Linked DNA regions of Homo sapiens: region 1 is linked to region 2. The links are contacts of gene promoters, found by promoter capture Hi-C in human tissues and cell types (Jung and others, 2019). All regions are on one chromosome and are shown on one strand. Each heading gives the region's core, a stretch centred on a gene start or on the middle of the fragment in contact. The rest is flanking DNA. Distances are from core to core; before and after follow the strand shown. Region 1 has its middle 16 kb from the start of FAM201A. Region 2 holds the start of TRMT10B (tRNA methyltransferase 10B).

Region 1 (5,152 bases), core at 2,344-4,843, 880 kb before region 2:
CATTGGAGTTCTACAGAGAGAAGCATAAGAACAGAGTAAAAAATATATGAAGCCATGCATCTCTTAATGACAGTAATACATTCCGAGACATGTGTCGTTAGGCAATTTCATCACTGTGTGAACCACAGAGTGCACTTCCGCAAACATAGATGATAAAGCCTACTACACACCTACGCTATATGGTATATCCTGTAGCTCCTAGGCCATATGCCTGCATAACATGTTACTATATGGAATACTGCCGGCAATTGTATTACAATGGTAAGTGTTTGTATATCCAAACATATCTAAACAGAGAAAAGGTGTAGTAAAAATATGGTAGAAAAGACAAAAAATGGTACACCTATGTAGGACACTTACCATGAATGGAGCTTGCAGGACTGGAAGTTGCTCTGGGTGAGTCAGTGTGTGAGTGGTGAGTAAATATGAAGGCCTAGGACATTAATGTACACTATTGCTGACTTTATAAACACAGTACACTCAGGCTACACTGAATGTATTTTAATTATTTTCTTTAGGCTGGGTAAAAATTTGACAAAACCATTAATAGAGGTCCCCAAGTATTGGGAAAGTGTTTCAGGAAGTGCAAGCATATGACAGTTAAAATATATGGCACTGTGGACAGGTGCTTAAGATTTTTATGATAAAGTGTAGCAAGTTGCAAGGTATGACCAGTCATTTCATATCTTGCATCTTGATGTCACACCTTGCAGTGGAGTGGAGAGAAAAGTTATTGGGTCAAAAGAGTCGAGGAACCATGAGTCACTTTACAAGAATTATCAGACTGCCCATGGGGAGCAGTGACAAGAAGCCCAGGGCTACAGGAAGGGAGAGGACTATGATGGACATCAGTGGAGTCACGTTGCATGGTGGCATGAGTCTCAAAAGTCAAAGGCGTGTAACAACGGAGAAGCGAGTGGAAGTGGGGAATGCAGATCTGACTGGCCGGGTGTGGTGGCTCACACCTGTAATCTCAGCACTTTGGGAGGCCGAGGTGGGCAGATCACGAGGTCAGGAGATCGAGACCATCCTGGCTAACACGGTGAAATCCCGCCTCTACTAAAAATACAAAAAATCAGCCGGGCGTAGTAATGGGCACCTGTAGTCCCAGCTACTCAGCTGAGGCAGGAGAATGGTGTGAACCTGGGAAGCGGAGCTTTCAGTGAGCCAAGATGGTGCCACTGCACTCCAGCCTAGGAGAAGGGAAAAGGACTCTCTTCCCATAATTCCACGTGACCCAGGTGCCACGAATATATTACCATGTAGGGAAAAATCAATGGCTATGAACACTTTCTTCTTTAAATGTATAATAAAACAATACTTTTTTTTTTTTGAAACAGAATCTCACTCTGTCGCCCAGGCTGGAGTGCAGTGGCACAATCTCAGCTCACTGCAACATCTGCTTTCCAGGTTCAAGCAAGTCTTCTGCCTCAGCTTCCCGAGTAGCTGGGACTACAGGCGCATGCCACCATGCCAGGCTAATTTTTGTATTTTTAGTAGAGATGGGGTTTCACCATATTGGCCAGGCTGGTCTGAAAGTCCTGACCTCATGATCTGCCCACCTTGGCCTCCCAAAGTGCTGGGATTACAGGCATGAGCCACCACGTCTGGCCAAAAATACATTTTCTTTCTTCCCTCTTCTTCCACCCAAAGCCACGAATTTGACTTAAGATACATTTTTTTTCCTTTATATGTTCACATAACTTAAGGAATAGTAAACCAAAGAAGGAAAGAAAGAAACAGAAACTAAGCCAGATAGAAAAATGAGTAACTGGGGTCAGGCTCAGTGGCTCACACCTGTAATCCCAGCACTTTGGGTAGCTGAGGAAAGAGGAACAGTTGAGCCCTAGGCAACGTGGCAAAAACCAATTTCTACAAAAAAAAAAAAAAAAAAAAAAAAAGAAAAAAAATTAGCTGGGTGTGGTGTCACATGACTGTAGTCCCAGCTACTTGGGGGGCTGAGGAGGGATGATTGCTTGAGCACAACAGGTCGAGGCTGCAGTGAGCTGTGATCATGCCATCGCACTCCAGCCTGGGTCACAGAACGAGGCCCTGTCTCAAAACAAAATAAAATGGTGCCGGGCATGGTGGCTCACGCCTGTAATCCCAGCACTTTGGGAGGCCGAGGCGGACAGATCACAAGATCAGGAATCGGAGACCAGCCTAACCAACATGTTGAAACCCCGTCTTACTAAAAATACAAAAAATTACCCGGGCATGGTGGTGGGCGCCTGTAATCCCAGCTACTCGGGAGGCTGAGGCAGGAGAATCGCTTGAACCGGGAGGCGGAGGATGCAGTGAGCCGAGATCGCGCCACTGCACTCCAGCCAGGGCGACAGTGACTCAGTCTCAAAACAAAACAAAACAAAAAATTGTAACTGGAACCCCCCCCCAGCCCCAAATATCTCAGATCTAACTCCCACTGAGAATAGTTTTGAAATCTGAATATAATGATAACAGAAAAGCAAATCTCTTAAAGTCTAGGAGAATGATAAAAGGCAGACAGGATTTTTAAAGTAAAAAAATCAAGACACAGGCGGCCGGGCGCGGTGGCTCACGCTGTAATCCCAGCACTTTGGGAGGCCGAGGCGGGCAGATCGCGAGGTCAGGAGATTGAGACCATCCTGGCTAACACGGTGAAACCCCGTCTCTATTAAAAATACAAAAAATTAGCTGGGCATGGTGACGGGCGTCTGTAGTCCCAGCTAGTCTGGGAGCTGAGGCAGGAGCTACGCTGAGGCTGAGACAGGAGAATGGCATGAACCTGGGAGGGGGAGCTTGCAGTGAGCCGAGATTGCGGCACTGCACTCCAGCCTGGGCGACAGAGAGAGACTCCGCCTCAAAAAAAATAAAAAATAAAAAAAAATTAAAAATTAAAATAAAATCAAGACACAGGCATATCTGCATATCTATTAAGATTATTTTCACATTTTGCAAATCATTTTCCTTTCAGGGGATTTGCTGCTGAGTTTCAGTTTAGGGCATTGCAGTCAAACAGGAATCTGCAGCTCAGATAAAGTGGTTTTGGGAGACACAGGATATGAGAGCCCCTGAACTGGGCTATCAAGCAGTGAGAGTTTGAAGGACCTATTATCTAGGAAGAATTACAAGAGAGTGAGCCTGACATCTGCCTGGCTTTCGGTTCTTGATAGATTTACCCAATCCTATTTTTTTTTTCTAAGATTAGAAGCAAAGGAACCAAATAAAAGAGGTGCTTTCAGTGGTCTAGAAAGCTTAACAGAGCATTTGGAATTGTGGGTCCTGGGAGACAGAGGTGGGAGTTCATGGCCTATCTTTCAAAGGAGATCTGCTTGGAAAAATCACAGTCTCTGGAGTCGTGACTTAAAAAGAGATAAGCACTGGGAAAGTCACTAGGCTGAAATGTAGTCTTGATTCACTCCCTTGACTGACTGGATCAAGGCGGTCCTTTGACTGCCAGAAGAAAACCAAGTCCTCTCTGGAGAAGACAAGAATGCACAGCCAAGCTTGGGTATCAACGCAAACTCACCTGAAACATCCAGAAACAGCATCCCATGACCCAACACCAAGAGAGACACAATAAGAAAGGAGCAGGGGCCGGGCGCGGTGGCTCACGCCTGTAATCCCAACACTTTGGGAGGCGGAGGCAGGCGGATCACGAGGTCAGGAGATCGAGACCATCTTGGTTAACATGGTGAAACTCCGTCTCTACTAAACATACAAAAAATTAGCCGGGCGTGGTGGCGGGTGCCTGTAGTCCCAGCTACTCAGGAGGCTGAGGCAGGAGAATGGCGTGAACCCGGCAGGCGGAGCTTGCAGTGAGCCAAGATTGCTCCACTGCACTCCAGCCTGGGCGACGGAGCGAGACTCCGTCTCAAAAAAAAAAAAAAAAAAAAAAAAAAAAAAGGGAGCAGGGTTTCTGGATACCACTGTTATCAATAATAACAGGAACTTTAATAGTTAACTATGATTCATGTGTTTTAGAAAAGAAACAAATGATCCAGATTTTTGGCAGAAAACTGGAAACCATAATGAATCAAATAGAAATTCAGAATTGAAAATAAATATCTGAAATACAAAATGCATACATATGGGTTGAGTTGGAAGATAGATTAGTAGAAAACATTTTAAGTGAAGCAGAAAAAAATTGATAGAATGTACAGAAAATATCTGTGTAATTGAAGTTCCAGAAGAAAGGGAGAGAGGAATTGGGACATAAGCAATATTTTAAGACAATATCACCAAGAATTTCCCCAAACTGACAATAGACAGTAAAAGAGAGATTTAAGAAATTCTACAAAGCAGGCAAATTAATTTAAGAAAAACTTCACCTAGTACATTATAATAAGTATGCAGAAAAACAGGGCAAGGAAAAGATTTTAAAAGCAGCACAAACAAAGAAATGTTATTTTCAAAAGAGAAAATATTAATATAAGGCTGACAGACAGTGTCTCAATATACACAAAGGAGGTAAACAGAATGGCGTCCTTGAAATGTTGGGAAAGTGAAACAAGCTAACAGACAAAAAAGATAATTAAAAAGAAGTTTATTAATCAAAAAGAAAAAGCAATAAAAACCTCTAATTTATCAGTAATTACATTCTAAATAAATAGTAAAACTGATTGGGTGAAAATAAAACAACTCTTTTATACTTACAAGAAACAAACATTAAGTAGGCATACGTAGAATAGTTGAAAGTCAAAGGTTAGAAAAAGATATTCTTTGTAAAGACCAAACAAGAGAAGGAAAAAAAAATGTATAGCTTTATAATCATAAGTCAAAGTTGACATTAATGCAAGATATATTGCTAAAAAGAAAAAAAAAAGAATAACAGCCATCAAAGAGAGTGATATGACAATCCTAAATTTGTAAGCTTTAAATAATAATATATTCTCAAAATATGGAACACAGAAATTGACCAAACTGCAAACCAAAATAAGAACATTCAACATTATAAAGATTTTAACTTACCTCTCTAAAACTGATGCTCCAATCAGACAAAACAATCAATAGAAATGTCAATTTGAACAACTTGATTACAAACTTGACACACAGAAAGCCCTGCAACCAATACTTACAGAATATAATTTGTTGTAAGTGCATGTGGGACCCTTACCAAAATTGACCGTATTTAAATAAAAAATGCTATTTTCTGACAAAGGACTAGGATCTA
Region 2 (5,337 bases), core at 573-3,072:
GCGGGGCCCACCTCTTTTGTATCTTTGTATCTCTGTTGTCTGGCATAAGGCCTGGCACAGAATGGAAGCTCAATAAATACTGATTAGGTGATTGCCACCTAGGGATCCTCAGAAAGCAAAGGTGAAGTTGGACATCACAGAAGCAGAGATCTGCTCAATCTGTGTGGGACATTATCTATGCCCAAATTTAGCATTTTTTTTTGGACATAGGAACTACCATTTTAACCATTTGTAAATGTGCAGTTAAAAACACACCTAAGGGCATCCACATTGTGTGCCACCATCACCACTGTCCAGCTCCAGAGCTTGTTTGTCTTCCTAAAGTGAAACTAACTTTAAAAAAAAAAAAAAAAAAAAAGACGGAGTCTTACTCTGTCGCCCAGGCTGGAGTGCAGTGGCGCGATCTCGACTCACTGCAAGCTTTGCCTCCCAGGTTCACGCATTCTCCTGCCTCAGCTTCCTGAGTAGCTGGGACTACAGGCACCCGCCACCATGTCCGGCTAGATTTTTTTGTATTTTTAGTAGAGACGGAGTTTCACCATTTTAGCCAGGATGGTCTCGATCTCCTGACCTCGCGACCCACCTGTCTGGGCCTCCCAAAGTGCTAGGATTACAGGCGTGAGCCACCACACCCGACCCTGTGACCTTTATATAACTCTCCCTTCCCCAATCCTGGCAGCACCTTTGTATTTCCTATCTTATGAATTTGAGTGCTGCTCTGGTTTGAATGTTTGTCCCCTTCTCACATTCAGGTTGAAACTTAATTGCCATTGTAACAGTATCAAGAAGTGAGATTTCATTTATTTTTCATTTCTTCATTAAACATCTTTTCTGAGCCTCCAATTATGGGTCCGATGCTGAATATTCATTACTTTCGTTCAACAAAGCTACTAAGCACCTGACATAATAGTACATCCTGGGGACTTGGGGATGACATTCGTTCTGCTTTCATGGGGCTCCAATTATCTGACCCTGCCTTGCATGACAGCTGTCTACCTGTTTCCCCACTAGATTATAAACCCAGGGAAGAATTGGAAGAATTCACCTGTACACCCTCAGTACCCGAGCCCTGTGAGCATCCTAAGTATTTGATGATCACCACTCTTCTGCTTAGAACCCTGCAGTACTCTCCATTTCACTGACAGTAAATAGCCCAAATCCATACAATGACCTATGCAGATCACTAAGGTCTACCTTTCTCGTTTCCTCTGCACTCCGGGGTCTATTTGCTGTTCCTCAAACATACCCTTCAAGGCCTTTACATTCGCCGTTCTCTTTACCCTCAATGCTCTTCCCTAAGACACTCACAGACTACCTTCCTCTCCTCATTCATATTACTATCCAACATAACCTATTTTACTTGTTGTCGGAACCTCCTCCATCCCTTCAATGTAGGCAAGTGTTGTTTGCTTATAGATGCTTAATAAATACTTGCTGAGTTCATAAATCCTCCACTCCGCACCCCCACCCTAGGTTGGCAGAGGCCTCAGACCTTTGCTAGCCTAACTCCCACCTGATGGGTACCTACACTGCCGCTAAGTGATGGCACATCGAATTCAGCCTGAGAGCACCCCGCCTGCGGGTCTCTCCCGGCCCACAGGCTGAGCGTGCGAGTGGAAGCAGGAAGGGAAAGTATCAGGAAGGTGGAGTACCACAGGCCACATGACTGCTAAACGCTGCTTTCTCAACGTCCGCCCCACCCGCGAGGGAGGCGGACGTCCCAGGACAGACCCCGCAGCCCCCAGCCAGCCCCCTTAACCAGCGGACAGCGTACCTGATCCCCTCACCCCCACGCAGCGGCAGCGGCGCGCATCGGATCCCCCCCGCCCCCGGCCTCGCTTCCGCTTCGTAACTCCGCTCCGAATGGCATTCTGGAAATTGTAGTTTTTCACCTGCAGGGTGCTCGTGGGGCCGAGCCGGAGCGGAGGCTGCGGCTTCTACTCCCAGCCCTGGCGGTAGGGAGCTGCGTCCTGCTGTGGTGGTTGCCCACCTTCTCTGAACCCCTGTCTCCCCGTCTGCTGGACAGCTATTACAACCCCAACCCTTTACCAACTTCACAGGGCTCCTACAGGTGCTCTGTTGGTTGTCAAGGGCTGGACATTGCGAAACTGGGGTGTGTGAAGCAAAAAAATTCTAAGGCCCGCACCCGACTGAATGGACCTCCCTCTCTGCCGAAGGAAACCTTAAAAACTAGTTATGGCCATTACAGGAAGCGGGAGTGGAGCGGGGCGGTTGGACATGCACTGATATTATATCCCATCCCTTGCGGAGTTTAGGCCCAACGGGGACTGACACAACAGAATCTTTGTAGAACTAAAATATCAAATTCCAACCTGATATCATATTGTGTCCGGAAATGGTGGATTCTTGGTCTCACTGACTTCAAGAATGAAACCGCGGACCATCGCGGTGTTACAATTCTTAAAGACTGCGTGTCTGGAGTTTCTTCCTTCTGGCGGGTTCATGGTCTCGCTAGCTTCAGGAGTGAAGCTGCAGATCTTCGCAATGAGTGTTAAATCTCTTAAGAGGGCACACCTGGAGTTGTTCCTTCGCTCTCGGTGGGTTCGTGGTCACACGGGCCTCAAGAAAGAGCTGCAAATACAGATCTTCACGGCGAGTGTTATAGCTCACAAAGACAGTAGGGACCCAAAGGGTTAGCAAGCAACAAGATTTATTACAAAGAACAAAGCACCCACAGTCCAGAAAGGCAACCCCAACGGGTTGCCGCTGCTTGCTCGGGCAGCCTGTTTTTATTCTCCTATCTGGCCCCACCCACATCCTGCTGATTGGTCCACTTTACAGAGAGCCGATTGGTCTGTTTTACAGAGAGTTGATTGGTCCGTTTTGACAGGGTGCTGATTGGTGCGTTAACAATCCCTGAGCTAGACACAAAAGTTCTCCAAGTCCCCACTAGATTAGCTAGACACAGAGTGTTGATTGGTATATTTACAAACCCTGAGCTAGACACAGAGTGCTGATTGGTGCATTTACAAACCTTGAGCTAGATACAGAGTGCCGATTGGTGCATTCACAATCCCTTAGCTATACATAAAGATTCTCCAAGTCCCCACCAGATTAGCTAGACACAGAGTGCCGATTGGTGCATCCACAAACCCTGAGCTGGACACAGAGTGCTGATTGGTGCATTTACAAACCTTGAGCTAGATACAGAGTGCTCATTGGTGTATTTACAATCCCTTAGCTAAACATAAAGGTTCTCCAAGTCCCCACTGGACTCAGGAGCCCAGCTGGCTTCATCCAGTGGATCCAGCACTGGGGCCGCAGGTGAAGCTACCTGCCAGTCCCTCGCCGTGTGCCCACATTCCTCAGCCTTTGGGCGGTCGATGGGACCGGGTGCCGTGGAGCAGGGGTCAGTGCTCGTCTGGGAGGCTTGGGCCTCTCGGGAGCCCACGGCGGGGGTGGGGGTGGGGGTAGGGGTGGGGGTAGGGGTAGGGGTAGGGGTAGGGGGAAGGCTCAGGCATGGCGGGCTGCAGGTCCCAAGCCCTGCCCCGCAGGTAGGCAGCTAAGGCCCAGCGAGAAATCAACAGCAGCGCCGGTGGGCCGGCCCTGCTGGGGGACCCAGCGCACCCTCCGCAGCTGCTGGCCTGGGTGCTAAGCCCCTCACTGCCTGGGGCCGGCGGGGCCGGCCGCCGCTCCGAGTGCAGGGCCCGCCAAGCCCACGCCCACCCGGAACTCTAGCTGGCCCGCAAGCGCCCTGCGAGCAGCCCCGGTTCCCCCTGTGCCTCTCCCTCCCCACCTCCCGGCAGGCTGAGGGAGCCGGCTCCGGCCTCGGCCATCCCAGGAAGGGGGTCCCACAGTGCAGCGGCAGGCTGAGGGGCTCCTCAAGCGTGGCCAGAGCGGGCGCCAAGGCCGAGGAGGTGCCAAGAGCGAGCGAGGGCTGCCATCACTCTGTCACCTCTCAACATGACAGAAAAACAAAAATTTTTTACCCCAAAATATGTTTCATTGCCATAATTTGAAATGGCCCCTGCAAAGCTGTTTTGTGTTGAGGGTGCGGGAGGGATTTGCATCTGTAAAAAAACCTCTATTAACCTAACTAGATCTTTCCCCTCCCAGGCCCTTCCAATTCTGGAGATTAACTGAGTCTAGCACCTTTTTTCCCCTTCGTTAACAGGTGAAACCAAATTTGGACGGCCCATCATCCCACAGCCTTGCCCTTCCCCAGGCTTTGCCACAGCCAGCAGAGCCCTCGAGCTGACACAACCCTTTCCTGAGTACACAACCTCCCTCGCCACTGCCCCAGCCTACAACAGAATATCAGGGCTTTGACCAGGATGATTCTAGCCCCTGGGCACTCTTCTTCCTCCATCAGAGACACGAAGCGGCTTGCCCAAGCCTTGGCCTCTTTATCAGCCACTCTTCCTTCACTCCTGCAGTCCTAAGAGGTCTCACCCATTCAGAGAGACTCCAACCTGAATGAGCCCGAAATATCTCCCGTTCAAGAAACTACAGCTTGGTTGGATTCCTCCTTGGCCCAACAATTCCCCCCTGTGGACTTTTCTTTCCACAGCTCCTCTAGCACCTACCAGCCATCCCCAATCCATGCTCCAATCCATCCATTATCAGCTTCCAGGACGATTTTGTTTTTTTTTTTTACAAATTTTTTCTTTTTCTTAAAAAAAAAAAAAAAAAAGACAGGGCTTCACCATGTTGCCCAGGCTGGTCTTGAACTCCTGGGCTCAAGCGATTCGCTTGCCTCGGCCTCTGAAATTGCTGGGATTACAGGTGTGAGCCACCGTGCCCGGCTGCGATTTTAAAATACTAACACTAAAAATTCATTCCCACCCCCCCAACTCTCCACCCCATAAGGCTTTTTCTTCTTTTTTTTTTTTTGAGACGGAGTCTTGCTCTGTCGCCCAGGCTGGAGTGCAGTGGCACGATCTCGGCTCACTGCAAGCTCTGCTGCCCGGGTTCACGCCATTCTCCTGCCTCAGCCTCCCGAGTAGCTGGGACTACAGGCAGCCACCACGCCCGGGTAATTTTTGTATTTTTTTTTTAGACGGGGTTTCACCGTGTTAGCCAGGATGGTTTCGATCTCCTGACCTCGTGATCCGCCCGCCTCGGCCTCCCAAAGTGTTGGGATTACAGGCGTGAGCCACCGCGCCTGGCCCTCCCATAAGGCTTTTTCTAAAGCCCAGCTTTAACATCTCTGCTCTGCTCAGAGATGGCCCTGGCTTCCGACTGTCTGCTGAAATGCCCCAGTGGGGCTTGCACCATGGCTTAAATGATCTTCAATGACGCCTTCAGGTTTTAGCTCACACCACACCTACCAGTCCCTGCGCCTCACACTGAGCCATACTGAACACTTTCCTCCGC

What was found. The method cuts DNA at HindIII sites, captures the fragments that hold promoters and counts their contacts. A contact is called where the count stands out against the background at its distance.
Region 1: a contact is called between a fragment that was not itself captured here and the fragment with the promoter of TRMT10B in region 2, in 1 of the 25 tissues and cell types used here (dorsolateral prefrontal cortex).

What each region holds. Positions count from the first base shown.
Region 1 is chr9:38,634,699-38,639,850 of GRCh38, reverse strand. No RefSeq gene overlaps it. Among named protein-coding and RNA genes, the nearest start is that of FAM201A, 16 kb to the right of the region's middle. The HindIII fragment of the contact is 4,842 bases long and covers 1,173-5,152 here.
Region 2 is chr9:37,750,290-37,755,626 of GRCh38, reverse strand. It overlaps TRMT10B (tRNA methyltransferase 10B), which reads right to left and starts at 1,822. Exons shown (of 9, transcript NM_144964.4): 1 at 1,775-1,822. RefSeq lists a silencer at 1,678-1,912. The HindIII fragment of the contact is 14,807 bases long and covers 1-5,337 here.